Linked DNA regions of Homo sapiens: all the other regions are linked to region 3. The links are contacts of gene promoters, found by promoter capture Hi-C in blood cells and fetal thymus (Javierre and others, 2016). All regions are on one chromosome and are shown on one strand. Each heading gives the region's core, a stretch centred on a gene start or on the middle of the fragment in contact. The rest is flanking DNA. Distances are from core to core; before and after follow the strand shown.

What was found. The method cuts DNA at HindIII sites, captures the fragments that hold promoters and counts their contacts. A CHiCAGO score of 5 or more calls a contact.
Region 1: a contact is called between a fragment that was not itself captured here and the fragment with the promoter of NFAM1 in region 3, in 6 of 17 cell types (naive CD8 T cells, naive B cells, non-activated CD4 T cells and 3 more). The highest score is 7.0, in naive CD8 T cells.
Region 2: a fragment that was not itself captured here is called in contact with the fragment with the promoter of NFAM1 in region 3 in 13 of 17 cell types (naive CD4 T cells, total CD8 T cells, naive CD8 T cells and 10 more); the score reaches 11.6 in naive CD4 T cells.
Region 4: a fragment that was not itself captured here is called in contact with the fragment with the promoter of NFAM1 in region 3 in 14 of 17 cell types (naive CD8 T cells, naive B cells, total CD8 T cells and 11 more); the score reaches 12.9 in naive CD8 T cells.

Annotation. Positions count from the first base shown.
Region 1 is chr22:42,241,553-42,244,976 of GRCh38, reverse strand. The region is part of intron 1 of TCF20 (transcription factor 20); the gene reads left to right. Among named protein-coding and RNA genes, the nearest start is that of TCF20, 27 kb to the left of the region's middle. The HindIII fragment of the contact is 5,614 bases long and covers 1-3,424 here.
Region 2 is chr22:42,184,610-42,187,825 of GRCh38, reverse strand. All of the region lies in intron 2 of TCF20 (transcription factor 20), which reads left to right. Among named protein-coding and RNA genes, the nearest start is that of CYP2D6, 55 kb to the right of the region's middle. The HindIII fragment of the contact is 1,113 bases long and covers 1,027-2,139 here.
Region 3 is chr22:42,430,712-42,433,712 of GRCh38, reverse strand. NFAM1 (NFAT activating protein with ITAM motif 1) reads left to right here and starts at 1,310. Exons shown (of 6, transcript NM_145912.8): 1 at 1,310-1,476. The coding sequence starts at 1,356. The HindIII fragment of the contact is 8,354 bases long and covers 683-3,001 here.
Region 4 is chr22:42,218,830-42,221,802 of GRCh38, reverse strand. The region is part of intron 1 of TCF20 (transcription factor 20); the gene reads left to right. Among named protein-coding and RNA genes, the nearest start is that of TCF20, 50 kb to the left of the region's middle. The HindIII fragment of the contact is 4,351 bases long and covers 1-2,973 here.

The sequences.
Region 1 (3,424 bases), core at 824-3,323, 190 kb after region 3:
CCAGTAGCTAGGATTACAGGTGCGCACCACCATGCCCAGCTGATTTTGGTATTTTTTTTTGTAGAGATGGGGTTTCGCCATGTTGTCCAGGCTGGTCTTGAACTCCTGAACTCAAGTGATCCTCCTGCCTCAGCCTCCCAAAGTGTTGGGATTACAGGTGTGAGCCACTGCGCCCAGCCAGATTTTTTTAAATTGATATGAAATTCACGTGACAAAATTAATCATTTTTAAGCGAACACTCGAGTGGCGTTTGCTGCATTCACAATGTGTGCACCCATAACAACCTGTATCTAGTCCCAAAGTAAACCTGCTACCCATTAAGCAGTTACTCCCCTTGCCCTCTTCTGCCAGTCCTTTGCAACCACCGATCTGCTTTCTGTTTTTAGATTTACTTCTTTTGGATATTTCATTAGATGGAATCGTACAATATGTGACCTTTCATGTCTGACTTCTTTCACTTAGCGCGTAGTGTTTTGAGATTTATCTACATTGTATTGTGTATGAGTACTTCATTCCTTTTCATGGCTGAATACATACTCAGTTTTATGTATATACCACAATCTGTTCATCCGTTCATCTGTTGATGGACATTTCGGTTGTTTCCACCTTTTGGCTATTTTGAATAGTGCTGCTATGAACATGTGTGTATATCTATTTGTTTGGATACCTGTTTTCACTTATTTTGAGTATATACCTAGGAATGGAGTTGCTGGATCGTGTAATTCTGTATTCAACTTTTTGAAGAACCACCAGACTTTTTCACAGTGGCTGAATATTTTATATTCCCATGTGTGGCCCAGGCTGGAGGGCAGTGGCATGATCGTGGATCACTACAGGCTTCACTCACTGGGCTCGAGTGATTCTCTTGCTTCAGCCTCCCAAATAGCTGGGATTACAGGTATGTGCCACCATACCTGTCTAATTTTTGTATTTTTATAGACAGGGTCTCACCATGGTTGGCCAGGCTGGTCTCCTAACTCCTGGCTTCAAGTGATCCAGTGTGCCTGGCCCCCACCAGCAATATGTGAGGGTTCCAGTCTCTCCACATCATCACCAACACTTGTAATTTTTTGTTTTCTTTCCTATAGCCATACCTATGGGTATGAAGTGCTGTGTCATTGTGGTTCATTTTTCCTGATACATTAACTTTTTAAGAGAAATGTTAGTAGACTTTATTGCTTAGAGCAGTTTTAGGTTTACAGAAAAAATGAGCAATAAGAGAGTTCCTGTTTACCCTCCCTCAATCCAACCATAGGTTCCACTATTACTAATATCTCATATTAGTGTGGTGCATTTGCTACACTTGATATACAGTATTGATATTTTATTATTAACTCAAGTCCAGTTCATATTTGACCTTTTTTTGTTTGTTTTTGAGAGGGAGTCTTGCTCTGTTGCCCAGGCTGGAGTGCAGTGGTGTGATCTCAGCTCACTGCAACCTCCACCTCCAGGGTTCAAGCGATTCTCCTGCCTCAGCCTTCTGAGTAGCTGGGATTACAGGCACCCACCACCATGCCTGCTAATTTTTATATTTTTAGTAGAGACAGGGTTTCACCGTGTTGGCCAGGCTGGTCTCAAATTTCTGACGTCAAGTGATCAGTCCACCTCAGCCTCCCAAAGTGCTGGGATTACAGGCGTGAGCCATCATGCCTGACTTTTTTTTTTTTTTTTTTTTTTTTTTTTTGAGACAGTGTCTTGCTCTGCCAGCCAGTGCAGTGGTACAATCATAGCTCGCAGTAACCTTGAGCTGCTGGATTCAGGTGAGATTACAGGTGCTAGCCACAGCAACTGACTTGAGTTCATTCTTTGTTGTATATTCTGTGGGTTTGGACAAATGCATAATGTCTTACATCTGCTAATACAGTATTATACAGAATTGTTTCACTATCCCAGGAGTCACCTGTACTCTCTCCGTATTCATCCTTCCCCCTCTTCCCTTGGATCCTTGGTAATCATTGATCTTCCTACTGACTTTACAGTTTGGTGTTTTCCAGAATATTATATAGCTAAAGTCATGTAGCCACTTCAGATTCATGTCTTTCACTTAGCAATAATCATTTAAGGTTCCTGCATGTCTTTTTTCTTTTTTTGAGACAGAGTCTTGCTCTGTCACCCAAGCTGAAGTGCAGTGGTGCGATCTCCACTCACTGCAACCTCTGCCTCCTGGGTTCAAGTGATTCTCCTGCCTCAGTCTCCCGTGTAGCTGGGATTACAGGTGCCCACCACCACCCTTGGCCAAGTTTTGTATTTTTAGTAGAGATGGGGTTTCACCATGTTGGCCAGGCTGGTCTTGAACTCCTGACCTCAGGTGATCCGCGTGCCTCAGCCTCCCAAAGTGCTGGGATTATAGGTGTGAGCCACCTCGCCTGGCCGGGTAGAGAGATCTTCACAGTTGAAAATACCTCTTCTAAATCCTTGACTTTGAGCTCCTCACGTGCTGAGAGTGTTGTAAGTTCGTCTATATAGTATACCCTATGATAACCCCTAATATGACCACAATAGATATTTAATTGTGGTGGTACTATACTTACAGAACAGGTTCATGTTATTTTTGGAAGACATTCTAGATAATAGAGACCATCTGTTTTGTATTCACCAAGATTCTTGATTCTTTGGTGATATCTCTTATTTGTTCTGGAAAATTCCCAATACTTCTCCTCACTTACTGCCTTGCCTCCATTCCCTTCTCATTCTAAGAGTCCACCCATACAGGGATACATTCAACCTTGTAGTCACCCTTTCTTTTCTGTTTTTTTTTTTTTTTTTTTTTTTTTGAGGCGAAGTCTCGCTCTGTCGCCCAGGCTGGAGTGCGGTGGTGCGATTTCGGCTCACTGCAACCTCCGCCTCCTGGGTTCAAGTGATTCTTCTGCCTCGGCCTCCCGAGTAGCTGGGACTTACAGGCACTTATTACCACGCCTGGCTAATTTTTTGTATTTTTAGTAGACACGGGGTTTCACTGTGTTAGCCAGGATGGTCTCGATCTCCTGACTTCCTGATCTGCCCGCCTAAGCCTCCTAAAGTGCTGGGATTAAATGGCATCCATTACAAGTGTTTTTTTTCTTTTCTATTTTTCATTCTGGGTAGATTACTTTGACCTGTTTTCAGTTAATCAGTCTTCTCTTTGACTAATCTGCGTTTTTTTGAGACAAGAGTCTCACTCTTTCGCCCAGGCTGGGGTGCAGTGCAGTGGCACGATCTTGGCTCTCACTGCACCCTCTGCCTCCTGGGTTCAAGCAGTTCTTGTGCCTTAACCTCTCGAGTAGCTGGGACCACAGGTGTGTGCCCCTACACCTGGCCAATTTTTGTACTTTTAGTAGAGATGGAGTTTCACCATGATGGCCAAGCTGGTCTTCAACTCCTGGCCTCAAGTGAGCCACCTGCCCCAGCCTCCCAAAGTGCTGGAATTACAAGTATGAGCCACCGC
Region 2 (3,216 bases), core at 334-2,833, 250 kb after region 3:
TGCTCAAGATTGTGGCTAATTTCTGACATCCTCTGTTTGGTAGATGAAGTACAGAAAGACAAAGAAGGACATTCTTAATGAAGGAGAAAAGTCCTTTAATCCCAACCTTTCTAACCTGATGGAAAACATCATAACTTTACTATAAACTGCAGACAGGCTGGTCCCACCTTATGGGCACAAAGACATCGGAAGGGAAATAAGGGAACGGGCTTTCTTTGTGGATCAAAACAGAATCCAAGGATGTAGCTGTTAGATGCCGCCAAAACGGCCACACTCAAGAGATTTGGACCTGGGTCAGGCTTTCTGTGCGTTTTGTACCACTTCTGGGGCCAGCTACCACCCAACCACCACTCAGCCACAGAGACACTTATTACAGGTTTATAATTTGACTTGAAAGGTTTTCCCAAAGAAACAAATACTTGTCAGGATCTGTAGCAGAGCCATGTTTTGATTGGGGCTTTTATGGGAGGAGAATGGTGATCTAAATATATAATTTTATTTCAAATTATGCTTGAAAGATGATCAGATTAAAGAAAGTTTGTGTGAGTGTTTTCATGGGCTTGTATTGGAGGGAAGCAGATGACTGGGTCCCAGGAGGCAGAGAAGATGAACTATTGGGCCCTAAGTGTGTTGTAAGGAATAGTACCATCTGTTGGACCTAAGATCCACATGGCAGCAGAGGGTCCAGAATCAGCCACAGCAGATTATTCTAGATTAATGTGAGTAGGGACAGGTTTGGAGAAGTATGGCTAGGAGCACCTGGCAGGTGACTCTGATGCAGGCAGCAAAGGAGTCATTGGTTTCCAGGTCTGCTCTCCACATAACAGAGGGCACTGTCTGTAGAGTACAACAGGCAAGCCTGTGAGGCGGTTTTTCTCATTCTAGTTGTGCTCAATATGCCATTTTGGGGCAGTTTTCAATGCTTTCGAAATCCTGCTAGAATTTAATTTGTATGCAGTTGTGTGTCATTATTAGTCCCCATTTATTTAACATCTTTTCTTGTAATGCAAAATGCTTTAGAAAGCTTTAAAAATAGTTTTAGTTTGTATTGGTCCCAGATAGGAGAATTGAGAGGGGAGATACAATGAAAGTAATAGTAAATAGTAGCTAAGAAGTGAAGTGTCCAGAGACTTGGCCAAGAACTGACCTTCCACACCGTCGGAGATGAAACATTACTGAAACATACAGCAGCTAGACTTACCAAAAAAACGACCAGCAGCAGGTGTCCAGACCCATGCAGGGTCTGCTTGTTTAAGGCAGATTGTAGGAGAGAAATTACTTAACAAAAAATTAACTTTAAACTGTTTGTCTTAATTTAATAGACTGTACTTTGTATTATATCTGATTTTGATATCAGTAATTGCCAAAGTATGACAGAGATGAATGTATGTTTTATGTAATTTTTATTTAAAAGTTCTAATAATTACATAACTTTCTAGTTTGTAAAACACTTTTATGGTTATTTTACACAGCAGCTTTAGGCAGAAGGCAAAGCAAATACTGTTATCCCCATTTTACAGATGATAAAATTGACCTGGTGACTTTTGGCTTTCACACGTGTGCTGACACCCTCAGTTTTTTTCTCCAGTAGCCCTGTGCTGCATCATACCTGGACAGTATGCACATTAGACCAACCACATTTATTCTAAAAAGCTAGTCAAGCCTGGAACTTTTGTCTTAAGTACACACAATTAGCCCTTAGCCAGTGAGTGGCTGGCTGATGTTTCATACTGACATCATAATTGATTAAGTGTGTATTTAATGGATTCAGTTTCTGAAACTGGCACTTTTGCCGGAGCAGCTGTAGGACATAAGTGCAGATTCTAAATCCATGTACCATAACTTGAGTAGCACTGAGTAAATGGACCTGAGAAGAACTGGACAAGTCTCTGTCCCTCTGAGGTTGACTGGGAAGCCTTGGTGGTACTGGGCCGTGGTGCAGGTCCCAGAGGCTGGTGCCAGAGCCCATTCCCTCAGTCTTTGTGTTAATGGCAAGTTAAAGGTTCTCCAGCCAGTCTCATGAGCTTTTCATGAAGAAACGTAAGGAGATCGTCTAGCTCTAAGGAAGTAAGGACCAAAACACCTAGGGCTATGTATGTATTGCTTTGGCTAACACTTTGAAGTAGTCTTTAAGAAGCTTGATAGGATGCAGAGTTGCATCAAAGAAATGCTCACAGGGCCTTGAAGGGTAGCTCCTTGTATGTAGCCCATCTAGCTGCCACGTAGTTGGCATTGATAGCTGGGAGGACAGCGGCTTCCATCCTAGATGTAGGAGGCATAATTAAAAGGACAAAAAACTTTTTGCTGGTGGCCAAAAATGAACACATACCTTGTTCCACATTCTCCAAGCTCCACCAGCATCAGTTTTGTAACTCATTGAAGAGTATCCTCATTAGTTGTCTTCAGGCTCTCAAGTTTGTCAGACATTGCATTCATTCCATCAGCCCACATTTACAGTGCCTATGGTGTGCCAGTCCTTGGGGGGTGCAAGAACAAGTCTCACAGTTTAGGGGAGATGGACAAACATGAGTAAGTAAATATTGTGAGCATGAGCAGAAGTGTGTGCCATGCTGGATAAGAGCCGTCTTAGGCACAGTAGTGGAGGGTAATCTGCAAGGCTTGAACAAAACCAGTTGTCATCAGTGTGCTATAATACTACTGTGACCCAGTTGCTTTGGTGTTCTGAGGCTGCTCTGAGATGCTAATTAAACAGGATGATGATTCAGGTTGCTGTTATATCTCATAAGAAAGAGCCTTTCTGTGAATGAGCAGGCATCAGGCTTGGAGAAGGCTCCCTTAAAGCTTCCCTCAGATAAGGATTAAACAACGCTAGTTGACTCAGTCCTTGCAGTTTGCTACCTCAAGTCAGCGAGCCCTGCCTCTGAGACAGTGACAAAGTCTGGTGAAAGGTTCAAGCTCTGTATCTGGGCCACTTTCCGTTAAAACATGTCCCAAAACTAATAATACCTTTTATAATTTATTTCCCAAGTTTAGAGTATCAAAAAATGTGAGGTTCTTATTAGAGTTCTTTAAAAATAGTTTTTATTCCCTTCCATAATAAAAAATTTACTATTAAAAGATTTTGAAGTTTGGGCCATTCCTTATTTTTAAAATGTGTCTTAATTTAGAAATCATGCTTGGAGCCCCCAATGTGTCTCATTCTTCCTGGGGAGCAGTATTGTATGGACTTACCTCTGCTTGGAGTGAATGTAGTAA
Region 3 (3,001 bases), core at 61-2,560:
CTGTTCATATGTCTTCCTCCCCTGGTGGGCGGCCCCTGCTCTTGCCAGCCTCCCAGTGCTCGTGGCATTGGTGGAAACGTCTTTAGGCTTTCACTGTTCATGTTTGGAGCAGCCCAGGGAAAAGCATGTGTGCAAAGAACTGAAATGGATCTCATGATGCCGTCACCGGGGGCTGCAGCTGGACACACCTGAGCAGGCAGTAGCAGGGTGGGAGAAGGCTCGGACATCATACCACTGGCAGTTCAAATGCCCGCCCCACAGACCTGCCCTGATCCTAGGCATGTTGTTTTGCCTCCTGGGGCCGAGGTCTTCTCTTTTGTACAACTGGGATCATCACATTTATCTGGTGAGTGAAGGGACACCTGCAGAGAAGGGAGGTAAGCGCTCAGCATGCGCTGAAACTCAGCCACCTTCCCGCCTGCGTCTTCCATGTACCAGGTGCCTCCAGCTCCACCAGCCATCACCACACCCCAGCCCCTTTCCTCTGCCACTCCAGACACGCAGGCAGATGTGTGGGTGCCAAGGGTGAGGGGCTCCCAGTCTGCTGGGGAAGGGGGTCCCGGCAGCAAACAATTCCTGTCCCCGGCTGATGCTGCTAGAAGTGAGAGCAGGGGCTGTGACCTGCAGCCAATGGGGAAGCAGTTCGAGGGTCTCACAGTTGGGAGGCCGAGTGAGCTAAGCTTTAGGGCAGCCACAGGGAGGAGCTGACGTTAGAGATGGACCAGAGAGGAGGCGTCTCCTGGGCCTCTGCAGGGGACCCACAGAGGTTCTCGCTGGGTGAATGATGGGCAGCCTGCCTTTCACCTGCCCTGGGTGTTTGGCCCTCTCTAGGGCTGGGAACATGAGGCTCCTGCCCTTCACCCCAGCCTCCCTACCACCCCTCACCAAAAAACCTACCTTTGGTAAACACATTATTAAGGGATTCTCAGAATATTTTAGAGAAGTTTGTGTGAACATGCTTGTGGTCGTTTTAAAAGTGTTTCAGAAGTGAGAGGCTAAACCAAGGCCCGAAGTCACTCATGGAAATCCCATGATCCCTCTGCACAGTTACCAGTGTCTCCTGGACGGGGCCCCTGCTGGAAAGGGGCCGAGACAGGGTGAAGCCCACCAGGGGTTGGAGTGGGGAGGCTTGGGTCCCGTCTCCAGCTCTTCTTCTGGTTGTGTGGCCTGGACCAGTCTCAGTGCCAGGTTCCTCATCTGGCGGCCACCCTGCTGGGCTGTTCCAGCTTTGCTTCTGAGCGGAAGGTCAGGGGCTGCCAGGGAGGAGCTTCGTGGGGAAAGCAAAGGGGAAGCTGTCAGCGCCGGCCGTCCCCTCCTGTGAACTAAAGAGTCGCCGCAGACAAGCAGGCCCCCAGATGGAGAACCAGCCTGTGAGGTGGCGGGCCCTGCCAGGCCTCCCACGCCCTCCTGGGCTCCCCGCAGCCCCCTGGCTCCTCCTTGGCGTGCTGCTGCTGCCCGGGACCCTGCGACTGGCAGGTAGTGTCTGTCTTCCTCCTTCTCTCTACTCTCTCGCTCCAGAACATCAGAGCGGCTTTCATCCCGCCCGGCGCAGCTAATTCCCAGGGACCTGTCTCTGGGGATTTGCTGGTTGTCGTTTGAACGCTGCAGACTTCACAGGGGAAGCCTTCTGGGACCGAGAAGATGTTTAGCTAATGCCTTGCCAAGGTGGCTTTTGAAGGGGAGGGGGACAGCGCTCTCTCCCTCGCTGCTGTGACAGCTTTGCCCCAGCAGTCTGGCCTCCTGGCCCTTAAACAAGGAGGGTGGGCGCTGTGTGGCTGGGGCCAGGGGCGGGGCAGGGGGGAGGGACAGCTCCCCATCCGAGGAACCTCACGTGGCTGCTGCGGGGGACACTGCGTTGAACCTGGCAAGTGGTGGGGCTACCCTCTGGGTTGTTGCTGGCATTGGCCAGGGAGAGCGGGGAGAGGGGGGAGGGGGGGATACCAGGGCCAGCCACAGGGCTCTGCGCCCAGAGGCACAAAACTGTCAGTCACCAGAAAGGGTCTCACCTCCCAGTTCCTGAAACACAACCAGAGGCCAAGTGTTTTAGGATGCAAGTGTGTCTTTCCACGCCAGCGGCGCTCCTTTCCTGGTTCCAGGCTTTCTTGGAAGCTGGGTGGCCGGGATCCGAGCCAAGCTGTGGGGTAGGTAGCCTCAGGGCCAGTTCATCAGGCCAGGGACGGCCCAGGAGGGTCCCATTCCAGGGCTGCCAGCACGAGGGCTCAGTGAATTCTGCCAGATTCTCTCTGCCCCTCCTTGGCCGGGCAGCAGCCAACCCTCCCTCTGGCCAAAGGGGTGGCCTCCACTGTGGAGACAGGGTGCCTTCCTTTCTATTCTCTTAGTTTATGGGGCTTTCAAGAGCTGCCCCCACCCTGTCCTGCTGCACCCCCTCTCATGACCACAAATTAGGCTTTATGGAGCCCTTAGCAGGGCACGTACTGGCCACCCTCACAGCACCCCTTGGGGCTCCTATTGTCCTCACCTGCACCATTTTAAGGACAGGGAAAAGGAGGCCCAGGGAAGCCAGTTCGTTTGCTCAAGACCTAGCCGGTAAGTAGAGGCCAGCCTCAGCCCCAGGCCAGCCTCAGCCCCAAGCTGGGCCCCTCGGCCAGTAGGCTCAGAGGATCCTCTTACTTGTAAAGAATGTTCTTCACCGGAAACTTACCCTGGGGAGGCAAAGGCTGACCTGTGTGTACCTCCCCAGGCTGCAGCCCAGAGCCCTAGGACACCATCTCCTTTAATCCTGTGCACGCCTCGCCCCACACCCCAGACAGTTGGTGCAAACACGGCCAGACCCCGGAAATGCAGCCTGTTAGTGTCAATGTGTCTCAACTACAGTCATTTTTAATTTAATTTCCCCCCAATTCCCATCCTTTCCCTTTGTGTGGTTCCTCCTCCCCAAAAGACACCCAGCACACCCTGGTAACCGAGCAGTAAGAGGTTTTATGGGGTGCTACTGGGGAAAAGCTCTTTTGTAACAGTCTCAACTATAACAAAACATTCC
Region 4 (2,973 bases), core at 450-2,949, 210 kb after region 3:
ATCGCCACTGCACTCCAGCCTGGGCAACAGAACGAGACTCCGTCTCAAAAAAAAAAAAAAAAACCCTTTGCCATATGGTTAATAAGCCCTATAGACCCCACATCCTTGGCATTCAGAGCCCAGCACCTGCCTGCAACTCTCTTCATAGTATCTCATCCAATTTTGGACTTTGGGCATTTCTTACTTTCTTGCAACTTGGCTATACATTTTGTCTGACATTTCTAAGTGTTTTGTTGAGGGAGGATTTTTAGTCCCTGTTCTATGTCATAGTGCATGAAATAGAAGTCTCTCATTCCCCAAGTGGCAATAGTCTACTCTGAAATCCTAGGAATGAGAAGAACTCTTATCAGTCAGGGTCCCAGTAGAAAACAGATGGCACATTCAAACTGGGTAATTTAAGGAGTGTTTAATTGTATCATTCAGGGTTCATTCAGGAAAAGAGAAGTTGTCTATTCCGGTATGAATGGTTTTGATACAGGAATTAAGGCTTTACCCAACCCTGGAAGAACTGGAATTGGGAAGGTTCCTGATGATTTCATACTGAAGTGTCATAGTGAATGGTTCTCGTGAGCTCATGGGGAAGCCGCTATGAATCCACGTGTGCTGCATCTACCTCCAGGGAATATCATCAACCTCTACGTTTATTTTGCCTTCTAAATCTCTCTTGCACTTCTCATTGCAAACTCTAACCCAGAACCATGCTGCTAAAGGGTTCTGGAACGGAAGTTCTCAGCTTCTGATCTGCAGAGGAGAGCTTGGAAGGAGGGTGGTCACGATGCTGAGTTGACAACAATGCAGAAGATTAATAAAGGGACTGGAAAGGGTGAGCAGGGTTTGGGGAAGCCAACAGGAAAGTGAAGTCTTCTGTGCTAGCAGTAGCAGGGAGTTGTTACCTACTGCCTTCTAGACCTGAAGGGCAGAGGATGAAGTGGTTCCTGGAGTTTGGAGAAAGTGGCTATATGTTGAGGTTGCCCGATGGAGCTGCAGCCATTGGTGGAGGGTCTCAGCCAGCCTCAGTAACCTCGGGGTGGGAGCCAGGAGAGTAAGTTCCTCTCACTTTCCTCCTCTCCTGCCTCTTACCAGCCAAACTGGGTCAGAAGGCAAGGGTGGTGGGGCCTGTCAGTTGTCCTTCCATTGTCCGTTCTAGGGCATAGAGTAGGGTGGAGATGGGTGAGGAGAGGCTGTGGGGGCAAACAGGGAATATCCCTTACACAGGCTATAACTAGATGCATCATTGTCAATGTCTTGAGGATTTAAAGGCAAAGAAGGAGAATAAGCAGAAAATCATGACAGAGGATGAAAAAATTAGCTGGGGCCAGGCACAATGGCTGAATTCTAGCACTTTGGGAGGTTGAAACAGCAGGATGGCTTGAGCCCAGGAGTTTGAGACCAGCCTGGACAGCACAGTGAGACTCTGTCTCTATTTTTAAGAAATTATAAAAATTAGCCATAGTCCCAATTATTTTTTAAAAATTAGCCAGGGGTCCCATGCCTGTGGTCCCAGCTACTTGGGAGGCTGAGGCAGGAGGATTGCCTGAGCTGGGAGTTGAGGCCGCAGTGAGCCTGTGGTCATGCCACTGCACTCCAGCCTGGGCAACAGAGTGAGACTCTCTTTCCAAAAAAGAGAATGGATTGGGAAGTGGGATGTTGTTGGACATATGGAGGAAGAAGGACAGAGAAAGCCAATGTTGGTTTTCTATAAGAGGGCAAGGTCATCAGCCCTCTAATAGGATGGGGAGAACAAGTCTGCAGCTGGTTATGAGTGAGTTTGTGAGGTCGGCACATGGACTCTGGAATGTTTAGGCACAGAGTTCTGGACCTCACTAATACACCTCCACAGCCCTTCTGAAACTGTTCAGAAAGTTAGGAATATAGGAGAAAAACAGGAAAGGGAGAGTCATTATGGATGGGAAGTACATCGGTAGGCCTCTTTTTTATTTATTTATTGAGACGGAATCTCGCTTTGTTGCCCAGGCTGGAGGGCAGTGGCGCGATCTCTGCTCACTGCAACCTCTGCCTCCGAGGCTCAGGCGATCCTCCTGCCTCAGCCCCCCGAGGTGCTGGGACTACAGGCACGCATCACCATGCCTGGCTAATTTTTGTATTTTTTATAAAGATAGGGTTTCGCCATGTTGCCCAGGCTGGTCTCGAACTCCTGAGCCCAAGTGATCTGCCCGCCTTGACCTCCCAAAGTTCAGGGATTACAGGGGTGAGCCACTGTGCCCAGCCTCTTTTTTAGAGTGTGTATGCAAGTTCCTTAGGTGACTTATTCCTTTGAGGTATCAGATTTTCCTTACTATTTGTATTCATTTAAACAAAGGAATTCAGGCACTTATTATTACTAATCACAGTGCTTTAAAACTGACTACACTGATGCTTTTTTTAAGATGATGGGATAAAATTGGAATTATCTCTATTAGCTTTTTTTTTTTTTTTTTTTTTTTTTTGAGACAGGGTTACTGTCACCCAGGGTGGAGCACATTGGCACATTCATAGCTCGTTGCAGCCTCGAACTCCTGAGTTCAAGCAATCGTCCTACCTCAGCCTCTTGAGCAGCTGGGACTGTAGGCACACCTCATGACACTGTGCATTTAAAATTTTTTTTAACCCAGGCTGGTCTTGAACTCCTGACCTCAAGCGATCCTCACACCTCAGCCTCCCAAAACACTGGGATTACAGGTGTGAGCCACCACACCCAGCCTATTACTTATTTTATAGCTCCAGGTTTACATTTTCTGTCGTTGGTATATGCTAGTTGGTTTTCTTAATTGGTTTACTTGGCATTCCTAAAAAAGATAAACCTGGGCAACCACCTTCTCCTACTCAGGTGCTTCATGTATACTAAGAATATTTAGCATGACTGGAACCCTGCAGGAGGTATTTGGCCTTGGATTTTTTTTTTTTCTTTTTCATAAAGTAGAACCATAACAATAGGGAAAGGGGTATCATACAGGACAGGGAATCTGCAGGGGA